Linked DNA regions of Homo sapiens: region 2 is linked to region 1. The links are contacts of gene promoters, found by promoter capture Hi-C in human tissues and cell types (Jung and others, 2019). All regions are on one chromosome and are shown on one strand. Each heading gives the region's core, a stretch centred on a gene start or on the middle of the fragment in contact. The rest is flanking DNA. Distances are from core to core; before and after follow the strand shown. Region 1 holds the start of KRTAP5-10 (keratin associated protein 5-10). Region 2 has its middle 18 kb from the start of KRTAP5-7.

Region 1 (7,912 bases), core at 1,432-3,931:
TAAAGCACGAAAGAATATCCTGTTTCTAGGAACTGGGACAAAGCCCGACTCTTCTGGCCAGTCCCTCCCTAACTCAGGATGTTGCATTCCCAGCATATTCTACAGTTATTCTTTTTCTTTCTTTATTAATATTTTAATTGAAGCATGATCATTGTACATGTTTATGGGGACCAGTGAGATATCAACTTCTTTAGCTTGCACCTGTGAGTGAGATCATGCAGTTCATCTTTCTGTGCCTGGCTTATTTCATTTAGCATAATGTCCTCCAAGCTCACCTGTATTGTCACATAGGGCAGAATTTTGTTCTGCTCTAGGGTTAAATAGAATTCCATTGTGTGTATACACCATCTTTTCCTTTTCATTACTTTTCCATGTTTTCCATTCATCTGTTGACAAGCACTTAGGTGCTTTCATATCATGGCTATCGTGAGCAGTGCTGTGATAAACATGGGGTGCAGATATCTCTTCAACACACTGATTTCTTTTCCTTTGGATACACACCCCATAGTGGGATTGCTGGGTTAGCTCTATTTTTAGCTTTTTGAGGAATCTCCATACAGTTTTCCTTAGTGGTTGTACAACTTCCCACTAACAGCATACGAGTTCCCTTTCTTCACTTCCTCTGCAGGATTTATTTTTGCCTTTTTGATAATGGCCATTCTGTGGGATGAGAGGACACCTCATTGTGGTTTTGACTTGCGTGTCCCTGATGATGAATGATGCTGAGCATTCCTTCAAGCTCTTGTTGGTCATTTGTACGTCTTCTTTCAGAAATGTCGGTTCAGCTCCCTCTGCAGTCACGCCTGAGAACCACAAGTGAGACACGGGGAGAATTGCATTGGTCTGAAGCCGCCTGGAGAACCGTCCTGTGGGGTAGTGAGTGGGGGGTACTAAAGGGCATGAGGTTATGAAATTTTCTACAACTGATTATGGTGATAGGTACACGGCTCTGTGAATATACTAAAAGCATTGAATTGTATACCTTAAATGGGAGAATTGTGTGGTATATGAACGATATGTCAATAAAGCTGTTAACAAAACAAGAAGAGGTATCAGAGAGGTTGGGGATCAGTGAAGCCGTGGTTGTATCAATGCACCAAGAGTTCTGGTGGAATGAAAGCACTGGAGAAAGTGAGCTAGAAAGAGGAGGGTGGCTGGAAGCGGGTGCATGGGACACACCCCACTGGGGTGCCCTGTGAAGAACAAGGGCACAGATATCACCACAGGGGTGAGGGGTGGGGAAGGATCTTTTACTTGTGTAAATGATCCCCACAGGGGCACTGCTTAACTGAGCAGTGGGAAGGAGGACACCATCCTCCAGCCCCCAGAATGGTAGAGCAACTGACAGCTTGCATCTTGAGCATGGAGAAGCTGCAGGCACCCAACTCCAACCCATGAGAGCAGCTGCAGGGGGTGAACCCTGCAAAGTCACGAGGGTGGAGTTCCCCAAGGCCTTAGGAGTCCACCCCTCACTCCAGTGTACCCTGGATGTGGGACTGGGAGTCCAAGGACATTATTTTGGAGCTTTAAGATTTAATGGCTGCCCTGCTGGATTTCAGACATGCATGGGGTCCGTAGCCCCTTCCTTTGGGCTGACTTCTCCCTTTTGGAATGGGAATGTTTACCCAATGCTTCTACCCTCATTGCATCTTGTAAGTAAATAATGTATTTTGATTTTCACAGGTTCATAGGTAGAAGGAACTTGGACTTGGGACTTCAGACTTGATGTTGGAATGAGTCAAGACATTGAGAGGACTGTTGAGAAGAGATGATCCTATTTTGTGATGTAAGGACATGAGATTTGAGGGGTCAGGGGGATAATGACATAGTTGGGCTGTCCCCTCCAAATCTCTTGTCGAAATGTAATCCCCAGTGTTGAAGGAGGGGCCTGCAAGGAGGTGTTTAGGTCATGGGGGCGGATCCCTCATAACTGGCTTAGCGCCATCTCCTTGGCGATGAGTGTGTTCACTCAGATCTGGTTGTTCGCAAGTGTGTGGCCCCTCCTCACCCCTTGCTCCCATTCTCACCATGTGGCGTGCCTACTCCTGCTTCGCCTTCCACCATGAGGAAAACCTCCCTGAGGGCCTCCCCAGAAGCTGAGCAGAGGTGGGTGCCATGCTTGTGCAGCCTGCAGAACCATGAGCCATTCTAACCTCTTTCCTTTATAAATTACCCAGCCTCAAGTATTTCTTTAGAGCAATGCAAAGAATGGTCTAACACACCCAGAAAGCTGAGACTGGTATGAGTAAAATATAAAGACCATGGATAACTTTTGAAATCTGAAAATGTAAAATTAATATTACTGGGGGAGTTAACACAGGAAAGATGAGAGCATGTGGGCAGAGGCTGTTGCCCATTGGTCACATGTGGTCAGCAGAGAGCAGGTGACCAGCACCCTGGAGCTTTGCAAGAAGTACCAGACAGCCTGGAGTTGAGGTTTTAATTATAGGGGCCAAAACAAACGGGGAAAAAGACAAATTTAGCATACAAAGAAAGTAGATGCTCAACTGAGCCAGGAGGAAGTCACTAGCAAAAAGGAAAAAAACAGAGCTCTGGAAAAATAATGTAAACAGTCACAAGAAAGGGACCCTGTGTCCTGCCTGACATCTGGACAGGTATATAAAGAGCCCGGGCTCAGGGAGCTCCACACCTGCACCTCCCTCTCACCTGCTCCTCTACCTGATCCACCCTCAATCTACCAGAATCATGGGCTGCTGTGGCTGCTCCGGAGGCTGTGGCTCCGGCTGTGGGGGTTGTGGCTCCGGCTGTGGGGGCTGTGGCTCCGGCTGTGGGGGCTATGGCTCTGGCTGTGGGGGCTGTGGCTCCAGCTGCTGTGTGCCCGTCTGCTGCTGCAAGCCCGTGTGCTGCTGTGTGCCAGCCTGTTCCTGCTCCAGCTGTGGCTCCTGTGGGGGCTCCAAGGGGGACTGTGGCTCTTGTGGGGGCTCCAAAGGGGGCTGTGGTTCCTGTGGGGGCTCCAAGGGGGGCTGTGGCTCCTGTGGGGGCTCCAAGGGGGGCTGTGGTTCTTGTGGGGGCTCCAAGGGGGGCTGTGGCTCCTGTGGGGGCTCCAAAGGTGGCTGTGGTTCCTGTGGGGGCTCCAAGGGGGGCTGTGGTTCTTGTGGCTGCTCCCAGTGCAATTGCTGTAAGCCCTGCTGCTGCTCCTCAGGCTGTGGATCCTGCTGCCAGTCCAGCTGCTGCAATCCCTGCTGCTGCCAGTCCAGCTGCTGTGTCCCCGTGTGCTGCCAGTCTAGCTGCTGCAAGCCCTGCTGCTGTCAGTCCAGCTGCTGTGTCCCCGTGTGCTGCCAGTGTAAGATCTGAGGCTCTGAACCCAGACCTTCAGGTTTCACCTGTTTGGTGAAAGCATTTGTTATGATTTCCCTGAATTAATTCATCCCACGCATCCTCCCTGAGGCACCTGCCCCTTCTCCAGCTCATCATCCATGCACGCACCTCCTTCCATGGCTCAGCTCTCCACTGGGCCCTGCCTTCAGCCTCCTCACTCCGGAAATGCATGTTTCCTTGATGCAGGAGGTGGCCTTGCCTGGACGCGGGCACCCAGCCAACTGCCATGGTGTTCCCTGCACTTGGGTGTGGACCATCTTCTTCTTCTCCCTCGGCTGACTGAGATGCAAGGTCTGACCCCACAAGGCCAGGCCAATGTTGCTCAGTGATCACTAAGAACCAGCTTCTCAACCACCATTGGGACCCTGGATCCTCCAGGGCCGCTCGCTGCCTGTTCTCCAGTGGCCACCTGTGACCAGGAAGGTCTCCTTCCTTCCTGTTGTCTCCATCTATTTAAAAACAATAACAAAGTAATGAATGAATTTCCTTACAATAAAGCCTCTCATGTCTGTAAATCAGCTGCATGCTTGGTGCAATTCTGTCCAACCCCTTTCCTGTGCAGTGACTGATTCTGCGTTCTGATCTGTCAGCTAAGCTGGGAAACGCCTGCCAGCAGGCCTGGTACATTCACAAAAAAACCTGCCATTCCCTTCTGTCCTCCTCTCAGCCTCAAATATCTTCAGTCTCTGCTCGCAGGAGAAGAGGGCAAAGCCCGGGAGGATTCAGCATTCAATGCCCGCCCTAGAGGCGCAGAGGGGCAGGCAGGCCCTGAGTCCTGACGACCAGCCAAGCAGGGCTTTGCACAAGACCCATGGCTTCCAGCTTCCCGCTCTCCTCTGGGGCCTCGGAAGGACCCCAGGCAGGGCAAGGTCGGAGGAGGGAGGAGTGAAGCACCGCTGAGCTCCAACGCACTCTGATTCAAACATTCAATTAGCCTTTTACAATTATGAGGTCAACGGCTTTCCATAACTAAAGGTAACCAGGAAGTTACAGAATGGCCCAAGGTGTCCTCGGAGCTCAGTCTCCCGGCAGGAAAGGAGAGTTCCTGGGAAGTGACACATTTGGGGACCCTGAGCCAAGTCCATCTGTTTCATGGTGACATGCCACCACGCTGAGCCTGTTCTCTGACCAGTGTCACAGGCAAGGCTTTAGAAATCACGCACTGGGGAGGAGGAGACAAGAGTGATCTGAGGACAATCTCCAGCCAAGCGAACCCGGAGGGAAAAGGTGGAGGGAAGACAGCACACAGGGAGTGCTGGTGAGAAATGAGCTCCCACAGAACACTCACAGATCTAAGCGACTGCTGATACTGCCGGGGAAGAGCAGAGTGGGAATTTCCAAGACAAATTTCTGAGAGAAAAGAGATGCAATGTAAGGAAAAATGAAATAATCTAGAAATAAAGGCTTAGATTAATTCAGCCACATTTAGGAAAGGGAATAAAAGTGTGTCAAAGGTGCATCTTGCTAGGGGACATGGCTATCGTTAGTTTCACGACGTTAAAAGGAAATGCTGCTTAAGACAGTTCACTCAAAAATCCAAACTGGGAAACTCCAGAAGGTGACAGCAGACATGAACGCAGAGTTCATTACATATGGGCCCTGTACATTCCCACAACCCACAGGACACCGAGCAACTAGGTAACAAAACCGAAAATGCATGCTGGAGACATAACAAAACCAGGTAAGCTGGGCATGGTGGCTCACACCTGTAGCCTCAGCTACGTGGAAGGCTGAGGTGGGAGGATGGCTTGAGCCTGGGAGTTTGAGGCTGCAGTGAGCTGTGATCGCACCCCTGGGATCCAGCCTCAGCAACCTAAAGTGAGATAGTGTCTCAAGAAAAAAAACAAGTGAACCTCAAAGTCCAAGAAGGTGGGGATAAATTTACAAGAGCCACAGTCCCCCAGGGTTTCAGTGTCTGTGTAGGAGAAAGCAAAGAAACATCTAACAGAGCCGAATACAGGGGAACCTCAAAAGAGCCAACAGGTGTGTGCTGGAAAAGCACAGCATGAATTTTGAATTCAGCTCCTGAAATGGGGAAGGTTTTCCTCTCTCCAGTGGAGAGTGGGTGCAAGGGCCCTCAGTAAGTCCCTATAGGCAATAAAAGAAAGCTAGGAAGCCTGCTGTGAAACAGATCACAGTGGTAGCGTACTGTTTCCAAAGGAGCTAATGAACAATGAAAGGAAATGATACCAGACATAAAAGAGGCTGCATGTGGTGGCTCATGCCTGTCATCCCTGCAATTTGGGAGGCCAAGGCAGGAGGATCACTTGAGGCCAAGAGATCAAATCCAGCCTGGACAATAAGGAGAGATCTTATCTCTACAAAAAAAAAAAATTTAAGTACCTGGGCATGGTGACACCCACTTGTAGTCTTGTTTACTCAGGAGGATTACTTGAGACCAGGAGGTGGAGGCTGCAGTGACCTGTGACTGCGCCACTGCACTTCATACTGGGCAACATTCTCAGTGCAGTTGCTGCAAACTCTGCTGCTGCTCCTCAGGCTGTGAATCAACCTGCTCCCAGTCCAGCTGCTGCAAGCCCTGCTGCTCCCGGTCCAGCTGCTGCAAGTCCTGATGTTCCCGGTCCAGCTGCTGCAAGTCCTGCTGTTCCCGGTCCAGCTGCTGCAAGCCCTGCTGCTCCCAGTCCAGCTGCTGCAGGTCCTGCTGCTCCAAGTCCAGCTGCTGTGTCCCTATTTGCTGTCAGTACAAGATCTGATCTTTAACACACAGCCATATTGGCTCTCATCCACATGCTCCAGACAGAGACCAATGTATCAGCATAAAGCCGTGAATCACAGCCCTGGGGTGACTGTTTTCTAGAATGTTGGAGCAGCAGTATTTGGAACAGGAAGAGCCTACACAGGCCCTGTGCGGGGCACAACCCCTCACCACCCTCATCTCACCATGGGTGGCTGTCATGGTGCATGAGACCGCTCCTGCTTCCTCTCTTGCACCACCTCTCTCTACCCTGACATTCTAAACCCTCTCCTCCCAGGCATGGTCCCAAGGAAAGCTCCTGTTGCAATTTGTCTATTGGGCTCTGCAAATTCTGAGCCTTGACCTTGTGAGTCCTTTGAATAAGCGATCCCTTCCCCTCACGAGTCCTGTTTTCAGTGTGGCCCTTTTCCTGCTGTTCCTTTTGAATGAGCCTTTCAACCTCCCTCCTGGCCCTAAAGCACCCCCTTTCTTTGCGCTTCCTGATCACATCAGGCTGTTGGGTGATCCACTCCTTCATGCGGCACAGTTTGCTAAGCACCACTGCATGCACCAGGAGCGCGAGAAGAACGCAGCGTGGCGCCTGGCCTTGGGGTGCTTGGACGGGAGCTGGGGAGCCCCTACGATAGGGTGGAGGGGTAACTGAGGTCCTCCACAGCCAGGTGGCGAGAAGGCCGAGCGGGGCAGATGTGAGAGGGTCTGAGACGCAGCATGACAGGGAAGAGACCAGCCAACTCTAAAAATAGCTTTGGGAGTAGAATTTCAAGCATGGTGACTGCTTGGATGGACGAAGGGCTGGGAGAGGCATAGAGAGAAAGGAGGAGGGAAGGGGGGCTCCCTTGTTCCTGAGCCAGTGCAGAGTCCTCCAGGACCCACTTCTTTCTGTGTCCTGCCCACCCTGTGACCTGGCCAGCTGCACGTTTTCCCAGCAGGCTTGAAGCCACGCTGTGCTGTGAACATTCCCAGGCCCTGAACACTGAGAAAGGTGTTCACGTTGATGCCCAAAACAGTGAAATCTCAAACACGTGGCTAAACATGCAGAAGCTATCTCAGACCCTGAGGCTAACCCCTCACAGCCCCATGTGAGCTCCACGGCCTGGGCCCTCGCTGCAGACATGCCTGCGTGTCCCCCTTCTCTCAGTTGTGACTGTGGCTCAGATGTGCCTACATCTGCCCCCTCTGGCGTTGTGGCCTTGGCTGGCATCCTCTGAAAAAGATGAAGGGAGGGGAAGGGACACAGCCCTCCTGACCTCCCCTGACAAATGCTCTTGACTGACCCCCTCTCTGGAGGGGCTGGGGCTGTCCCTGCATTACTCCCCTGCCACAGCTTTTGGGGTGACTCCAGCAGCAGGACTGGCCAGACAGAACAGTAAGGGAATTGAGACCCACCTTATTGGTCTCAGAACTTTGTATAAATCCCACAGGATAATATTAGCATTGGTTTAAGTGGTTCACTGATTGTTTTAAAGGGATTTGTATTTTAAAGTCTTGATAAAACAAGCAGGGAAAATTCATGCTACCCCTTGATTCTGCCAAAAAACCACCTGCTTCTTGGAAGAGGCCAGACCCCGTTCAGAGCCGCCGTTTACTAATCAGAGGAGAGAGGCTCGCTCAGCAGAGATGCGTGTCTCCTCTTCAAGCTGTGAGAGTCTGAAGCCCTCGGACACCAAAGAAGTGTGTGGAGGGTGTATGGGGGGTTGTGTTTGAATGTGTGCATGTGAGTGCATGAGTGTGTGTGTCAAAGAATATGTGTATGAGTATGCGTATGACTGTGAGTGTGTGTGCAAATATGCATGAGGATTTGCATGAGTGTGTGAGTGCACATGAGTGTATGAGCAGGTACATGAGTGTGTCAGTGTG
Region 2 (7,912 bases), core at 1,592-4,091, 58 kb before region 1:
TTTTAAAACTCTAGGACAGTGATTCTCAAACACTTTGGTCTCAAAACCCCTAAGAGCATTTGCTTATGTGGCTTTTATCTGTTGATAGTTGCTACCTGAGAAATTAAAACTGAGAAATCTAAAAATAGATTTATTTTAGGAAGTCACTAAAAATAATAAGCCCATTGCATGTTAACATGAAATAGCATATTTTTACAAAAAAATAAATTTTCTAAAAACAAAACATCTAAGTGAGAAGAGTGGCATTGTTGTACTTGTTTTGCAAATCTTTTCAGTGTCCGGTTTATGAGATGACAGCACTTTGGTTTGTTGCCAACCATTCACTTATAAAGAAACCCTTTTCCAATAATTAGCTGGGGCTGGTGCTAGAGCAATACCAGAAGTTCAGCGATGTCTGTAGATTTGTCCAAATGTATGTGAAGAGACTGTGTTTACTCAGTTTTTATGTTTGCAGTTAAATCTTCAATTTGATGAGTTATTTTATCATTGCAAAGTGGCAGTGTCAGGGTTTCCTTTATTGACTTATCCAGCAGGCATTCAGCTATATCAACTCTACATATGAAGTAAGGAGTTGAATTAAGCAGAGTAGTTAATAAAAAGCTTTTTTTTTTCATGTTTTAAAAATGTGACGTTGTCAGGCCTCTGAGCCCAAGCTAAGCCATCATGTCCTCTGTAACCTGCACGTACACATCCAGATGGCCGGTTCCTGCCTTAACTGATGACATTCCACCACAAAAGAAGTGAAAATGGCCTGTTCCTGCCTTAACTGATGACACTATCTTGTGAAATTCCTTCTCCTGGCTCATCCTGGCTCAAAAGCTCCCCTACTGAGCACCTTGTGACCTCCACTCCTGTCTGCCAGAGAACAACCCCCCTTTGACTGTAATTTTCCTTTACCTACCCAAATCTTATAAAACGGCCCCACCCCTATCTCCTTTCGCTGACTCTTTTCAGACTCAGCCCGCCTGCACCCAGGTGAAATAAACAGCCTTGTTGCTCACACAAAGCCTGTTTGGTGGTCTCTTCACACCGATGCGAGTGAAAACTGTTTTATTTCTACCCGCAGGCGGGGCCTGCCAGAGGAGGTAGGTGTGCTGGGCTCAGGGGACGTGTGGGCTGTGAGGAGGAGATGGTGACAGGAAGCTGGAAGGAAAGGGGGTGGCTTTGGAGGCCAGGCCGAAGGGGCCCTCAGGTCTGCTTGTAGGGTGGGATAGCCTTGAGGAGGGAGTCATGGCAATGCACAGCCAGGCTGCCAATTTTGAATTAAGAAATTCTTGGAAATCTAGCTGCCTGTTACTGTTGACATCCAGTCTTTTCGTCATGCAGTCAAGGACACTGCGGTCCTTCTGCTTCTTTGTGACGGCAGCCTCTTCTGTGTTCATGAAGCTTAGGAACTCCGTCTTGGAGAGAGCAGTTGTAACCATCCTCTCCAGGATCCTTCTGGAAAACAGCAATCAGGGACTCAATGCACCACTCAGTCTCTGCAGGGCTGGAGATTTTTGCCAGGTTGTAGCTGAGTGAGGCATGGGAGGCTGTACTTGGGAGTGGTGTGGAGACCTCTGGTAAAAAGCTTTTGAAAAGGATGATTCTATTCCATTAGGATTGGCTTATATGAGGGGAAAAATAGGATTGTATATAGTTAAAGAAAAAACAATTCATTGGCCCATGTCAGATCTAACAAATCAAAACACATGGAAGCTGTGGCGTCCTAATCAGGGAAAAGGAGCCAGGGTGGCAGGACCAAGGGAAAGCAAAAAGAGAAAGCAGATAAGCTACAAGTCTGCATTTCTTCACAGTCCAGCACACACAGCCCTCCTGTGCATATAGCTCACAATCTTCCCATGCCCAGGTATCACCAGACCCTCAGCTGATAGAAAAATGCAAGTTAGCTCACTGCAACCTTGGCATTGTAGGTATTGTATGCAGCCCTCTTCAGCACATGGCCCAGGAACCATCCTGTAAAATCCCCTGCAAGCCTTTGTCTCCTTGCAGTCAGCTCCTCTTCTCCTGGCCTGCCCATTGCCTTCTTGCAATGTACTTCCTTCCTTTCTTTAATAAATCTGCCTTTTTTTAAAACCTACAAGTTTCTTGGTAAACTCTTTTACCCCTGTGACACCAGCCTCAGATAGTCGCCATCACCCACCATAGAAGCTACTCCTGGAGAGCTGATTATTTTTAATTTGCAGATAATTTATTCGTGTATTTTTCAAATACGTATTGCGACTCCTCTTCTGGTTCTGATGGAACAGCTCATATTTGAGCTACAGAATCACTGAGAACAAGTAGGAAAGCCAGAAAAAATTAACACAAAACAGCAGTTGAAAGCACTAGAGAGAAACCCAGGTGTCCAGGACAGGAGGTGCCTGGATCCTGGTGAGAAGGGAAATGAATGCATCAGGTGCCAGCGCTCCACTCTCCTCCCGTGGGGCCTCTGCCCATTCGTTAGCGACAGAGAGAACAAGAGCACAAGCAGAAAGCAGCTGAGGCATTGGCAGTTCCTTCCGAAAATCAGACTTTAGGGTGACAAAGGCAGCCAGAGCTTGCAGGGCAAAGCTTCCAGGGAAAAGAAGAGCTCAGAGAAGTGAGTCCAGTGTGCAGCAGCTCCTCTTCCCTTGAAGATTATGAAACTGCCTGGGGAAAGAGGACAAGGAGCTAAGCAAAAAGCATCCATGAAGAGCCTTTAAAGCAAAACAGAGATTATGGAGGTTTTGTAGCTCTGGAAAATAAATATTTAATTTTAGGATTAATAAGAAAGGGCTTGGTAAAAACTTAAGGCTTTCTATTGAAACCCCTCAAGACTATATACTGGGAGAAGTACAGGCCAGAAATAGAGACTCCTTCACAAAGAATAAAGCCTGGCCTCTTATCTTACTGCCTCACTGGATCAATGTGATCTGCTGCTTGTCTAACTGTTTCGCAGAAGGAAAACAAATGGTCTCTGCAAGAAAGTAACATCACTCAAAACCTTTCTCAGTTTTTTATACTCTTTATCTGGTATTCAATAAAAGATCACTAGGAACTCTATAAAAATATACTTAAAATGTAATATAAATCATAATACATACAAAGCTATAAAAATATATTCAAAATATCAAACCCAACATAAGCAGAAGAAGAAAAAAATCCAGATAAGAACAGAAATCAGTGAAATTAGAGACAAAAAATAGAGAAAATAAATGAGACAAAAATCTAGTTCTTTAAAAAAAATCAGTAAAATTAACAAACCTCTTGCTAGACCAACAAAGAAAAAAAAGAGAGGATACAAGGATACAAACTATAAGCTTCAGGAATGGATACCAAGTTTGGGGATATCACTACAGACCCCACAGACATGAACCGGATAATGAGCAAACGGTGCAAGCAACTCTACACATAGAAATTCAACAGCTTATGTGAAGCAGACCAACTCCTCAAAAAGCACAAACTACCAACATTCAGCCAGGACAAAATAGATAATTTGGATAGCTCTATAATTATTAGGGGAATTGAATGTGTAGTTTTAAAATGCCAAAAGAAAGTTGGAATTTTAAATTTTCAGATGCAGAGAATTACCAAATTTTTAAAGACTGAACACCAATTCTACATAATCTCTGGAAAATAGTGGAGAAGAGAACCCTTCCAAATTCATTTTAAGGGGCCAGTATTACCCTGATAGCAAAACCAGACAACGACAATACAAAAAAAGAAATAACCAATGCCCCTCATGAACATAGACACAAAATCTTCAACAAAAGAAAGCAAATAGAATCCAGCAATATATTAAAGAATTACAAACCATGACCAAGTGGAGTTTATTCCAAGCATGTAAGACTAGCTCCACATTTGGAAGTAAATCAATGTGATCCACTGTGCTAACAGGCTGTAGAAGAAAACTCACACAATTGCATCAATTGGGACACAAAGAAAGCATTTGGAAATTTTTACCACCTGTTCATAATTTTTAAAAAACTCAGCAAACTAGGATTAGAGTGTCACTTCATCATCTACAAAAAACCTATAGCCAATTTTAGGCTTAATGGTGATAACTGAATGTTTTCCCCTAACATTTGGAGCAATTACAAGTGTCCACTCTCACCACTCTTCAACATAATGAAGTTCTAGCCAGGGCAATAAGGCAAGAGAACTAGAAGATATACAGATGAGAAATGAAGAAATATTTGCACACACCATAGTAGTCTATGTATAAAATCTCAAGGAATCTACAACAAAAACCCAAGAACTAATAACAGTGAGTTCAGCAAGGTCTGAGGATTTAGATCGACACACAAACATCAATCATTTCTCAACCTTACATCTGATTAGGTGTGAATATCAAAAATATATAAGGAATTCAACCAACTTAACAGCAAGAAAACAATTCAATTAAAAATGAGCAAAGGATCTGAACAGTTCTCAAATGAAGAGATATGAATAGCCAACAGATATATGAAAAATGCTCAACATCTCTAAGAATCAGGAAAATGCAAATTAAAGCCACAATGAGATATAACCTCACACCTGTTGGAATCACTGTTATCAAAAAGACAAAAGATAACAAGTGTTGATGAAGATGTAGATAAAAAGGGAACACTTGTACACTGTTAATGGGAATGTAAATTAGTACAGCTGTTAAAAAAATAGTATGGGGGTTCCTCAAAAACTAAAAATAGAATTACCATATTATCTGGCAATTCCACTTCTGGGTATATATCCAAAGGAACTGACATTGATTTGCTGAAGAGATATATTCACTCCCACATTTATTTCAGCATTATTCACAATAGCGAAGATATGGAAGCAAACTAACTGTCTATCAATGGATGAATGGGTAGAGAAAATGTGTATATACACAATGGAATACTATACAGCCTTTAAAAGGAAGGAATTTTTGTCATTCATGACAATGTGGATATAACTAGTGGGGCATTATGCTAAGTGAAAGAAGACAGGCACAGGAAGACAAATATTGTATGACCTCACTTATATCTGGAATCTTAAAAAGCTGGTCTCATAGAAAAAGTATAAAGGTGGTTACCAGGGGCTATGGGTAGGTGGGGAGGAGCAGGGATGGGGCCAGCAGGAGATGTTGACAGAAGGGCATGAAGTTTCAGTTAGACTGGAGGAATACGTTTTAGTGACCTATTGTACTTCATGGTAACCATGGTTTGTTCTCCTTGGGAAGAGTGGGGACGGGTCCCTGAAGCACCAAGTCACTGAAACTTCAATTTATTGTAAGGACAAATTCAAAAGTTGGAAATCAGAGATGAACCAATGTGGATCTTCCAGTGTTGACTCAATATGGGGCAAACATTTTCCCAAGAAAGAGATAGAGGGGAGAAAGCCAGAGTGGAAGGATTACCCCGAGGGCTCTAGGCACAGGGGTGTCCTGGGGATTGTGAGAATTAAAATGTAAACTCCTCACCTAGGTGACAACGGCACGTGGGTGCGAAATTTCAGGCATGATTTTTTTTCCCATCCAGCTCCCAGACTGAGAGAGACTCATTTTAATGCCCTCTGCTGTTACCAACATACGGAACCTCTCGAGGCAACTCTTTCATGGAGTGGGAAGCCGTTCGATGTCTCAGCTTTATGCTGAGATTCAATTGATTTAGTCTTCACCATGAAGTTCTTAAATCCAAGGCCCCGAAGTTCCTAGAACTACCAGATCCCTCAGAGTATTCACCCTGGCTTCATGCTTCCTAATCTCGTGGAATTTCTCTAATGCTACAGGAAACACAGCCATGCACTTAAACAGATGTCTGTTTTTACCAAGAATTTTCAATCATAGCCAGAAACATACCGGGTTCACTGTTTTTCCAGAAGTGGATGTCTACCTTAGAGTTTTCAGGAGGCTTCAAAACATGGCAACCTGAAGTCCCTAGCCTCCAGTAGAAAAATTCTTTCCTTACATTTATGACAGTTTTGCCTTATGTGTTGTGAGGAGCAGTCAAGTTCCGGAGACAGAAATCCGGAAGCACACACTGTCAGGGTCCCTGTTCCTTCCCCTAGGTCGTATCCATGAACCATCCCTTCACTGCTGCCTTGGGAGAGGGGAAGGTGTTCGGGCTGAGGATGAGATCAAACCAAAGTTTAACCACACCTCAGCATTCTATGACTTCACATCGCTGAGTCCATAAGAGAACCAGGACCCTCCAGACCCAGAAAATACTTGGGTGGATCCAAGATGGCCTGGTTCAGCCAAGATGGCTGAATAGGAACAGCTCCGGTCTACAGCTCCCAGCATGAGTGATGCAGAAGACAGGTGATTTCTGCATTTCCATCTGAGGCACCGGGTTCATCTCACTAGGGAGTGCCAGACAGTGGGTGTAGGACAGTGGGTGCAGCACACCGTGTGTGAGCCGAAGCAGGGCGAGGCATTGCCTCACTGGAGAAGTGCAAGGGGTCAGGGAGTTCCCTTTCCTAGTCAAAGAAAGGGGTGACAGATGGCACCTGGAAAATCAGGTCACTCCCACCCTAATACTGCGCTTTTCCAATGGGCTTAAAAAACGGCACACCAGGAGATTATATCCTGCACCTGGCTCGGAGGGTCCTACGCCCATGGAGTCTTGCTGATTGCTATTACAGCAGTCTGAGATCAAACTGCAAGGTGGCAGCAAGGCTGGGGGAGGGGCGCCTGCCATTGCCCAGGCTTGATTAGGTAAACAAAGCAGCTGGGAAGCTCAAACTGGGTGGAGCCCACCACAGCTCAAGGAGGCTTGCCTGCCTCTGTAGACTCCACCTCTGGGGGCAGGGCACAGACAAACAAAAAGACAGCAGTTACCTCTGCAGACTTAAATGTCCCTGTCTGACAGCTTTGAAGAGAGTAGTGGTTCTCCCAACATGCAGCTGGAGATCTGAGAATGGGCAGACTGCCTCCTCAAGTGGGTCCTTGACCCCTGAGCAGCCTAACTGGGAGGCACCCCCCATTAGGGGCAGACTGACACCTCACACAGCCGGGTACTCCTCTGAGACAAAACTTCCAGAGGAATGATCAGGCAGCAGCATTTGCGGTTCACCAAGATCTGCTGTTCTACAGCCACCGCTGCTGATACCCAGGCAAGCAGGGTCTGGAGTGGACCTCTAGCAAACTCCAACAGACCTGCAGCTGAGGGTCCTGTCTGTTAGAAGGAAAACTAACAAACAGAAAGGACATCCACACCAAAAACCCTTCTGTACATCACCATCATCAAAGACCAAAAGTAGACAAAACCACAAAGATGGGGAAAAAACAGAGCAGAAAAACTGGAAACTAAAAAGCAGAGCGCTTCTCCTCCTCCAAAGGAACACAGCTCCTCACCAGCAACAGAACAAAGTGGACAGAGAATGACTTTGATGAGCTGAGAGAAGAAGGCTTCAGACGATCAAACTACTCCGAGCTACAGGAGGAAATTCAAACCAATGGCAAAGAAGTTAAAAACTTTGAAAAAAAAATTAGACGAATGGATAACTAGAATAACCAATGCAGAGAAGTCCTAAAAGGAGCTGATGGAGCTGAAAGCCAAGGCTTGAGAACTACGTGAAGAATGCAGAAGCCTCAGGAGCTGATGTGATCAACTGGAAGAAAGGGTATCAGTGATGGAAGATGAAATTAATGAAATGAAGTGAGAAGGGAAGTTTAGAGAAAAAGGAATAAAAAGAAATGAACAAAGCCTCCAAGAAATATGGGACTATGTGAAAAGACCAAATCTACATCTGATTGGTGTACCTGAAAGTGACGGGGAGAATGGAACCAAGTTGGAAAACACTCTGCAGGATATTTTCCAGGAGAACTTCCCCAATCTAGCAAGGCAGGCCAACTTTCAGATTCAGGAAATACAGAGAACGCCACAAAGATACTCCTTGAGAAGAGCAACTCCAAGACACATAATTGTCAGATTCACCAAAGTTGAAATGAAGGAAAAAATGTTAAGGGCAGCCAGAGAGAAAGGTCGAG

Evidence for each region. The method cuts DNA at HindIII sites, captures the fragments that hold promoters and counts their contacts. A contact is called where the count stands out against the background at its distance.
Region 2: a fragment that was not itself captured here is called in contact with the fragment with the promoter of KRTAP5-10 in region 1 in 2 of the 25 tissues and cell types used here (H1 embryonic stem cells and mesendoderm cells).

The regions. Positions count from the first base shown.
Region 1 is chr11:71,562,882-71,570,793 of GRCh38, forward strand. KRTAP5-10 (keratin associated protein 5-10) reads left to right here and starts at 2,682. Exons shown (of 1, transcript NM_001012710.2): 1 at 2,682-3,854. The coding sequence starts at 2,707. The coding sequence ends at 3,315. It also overlaps the pseudogene KRTAP5-13P. RefSeq lists an enhancer at 3,069-3,884. The HindIII fragment of the contact is 12,390 bases long and covers 1-7,912 here.
Region 2 is chr11:71,504,873-71,512,784 of GRCh38, forward strand. It overlaps the pseudogene S100A11P3. Among named protein-coding and RNA genes, the nearest start is that of KRTAP5-7, 18 kb to the right of the region's middle. RefSeq lists an enhancer at 499-1,089. The HindIII fragment of the contact is 5,651 bases long and covers 17-5,667 here.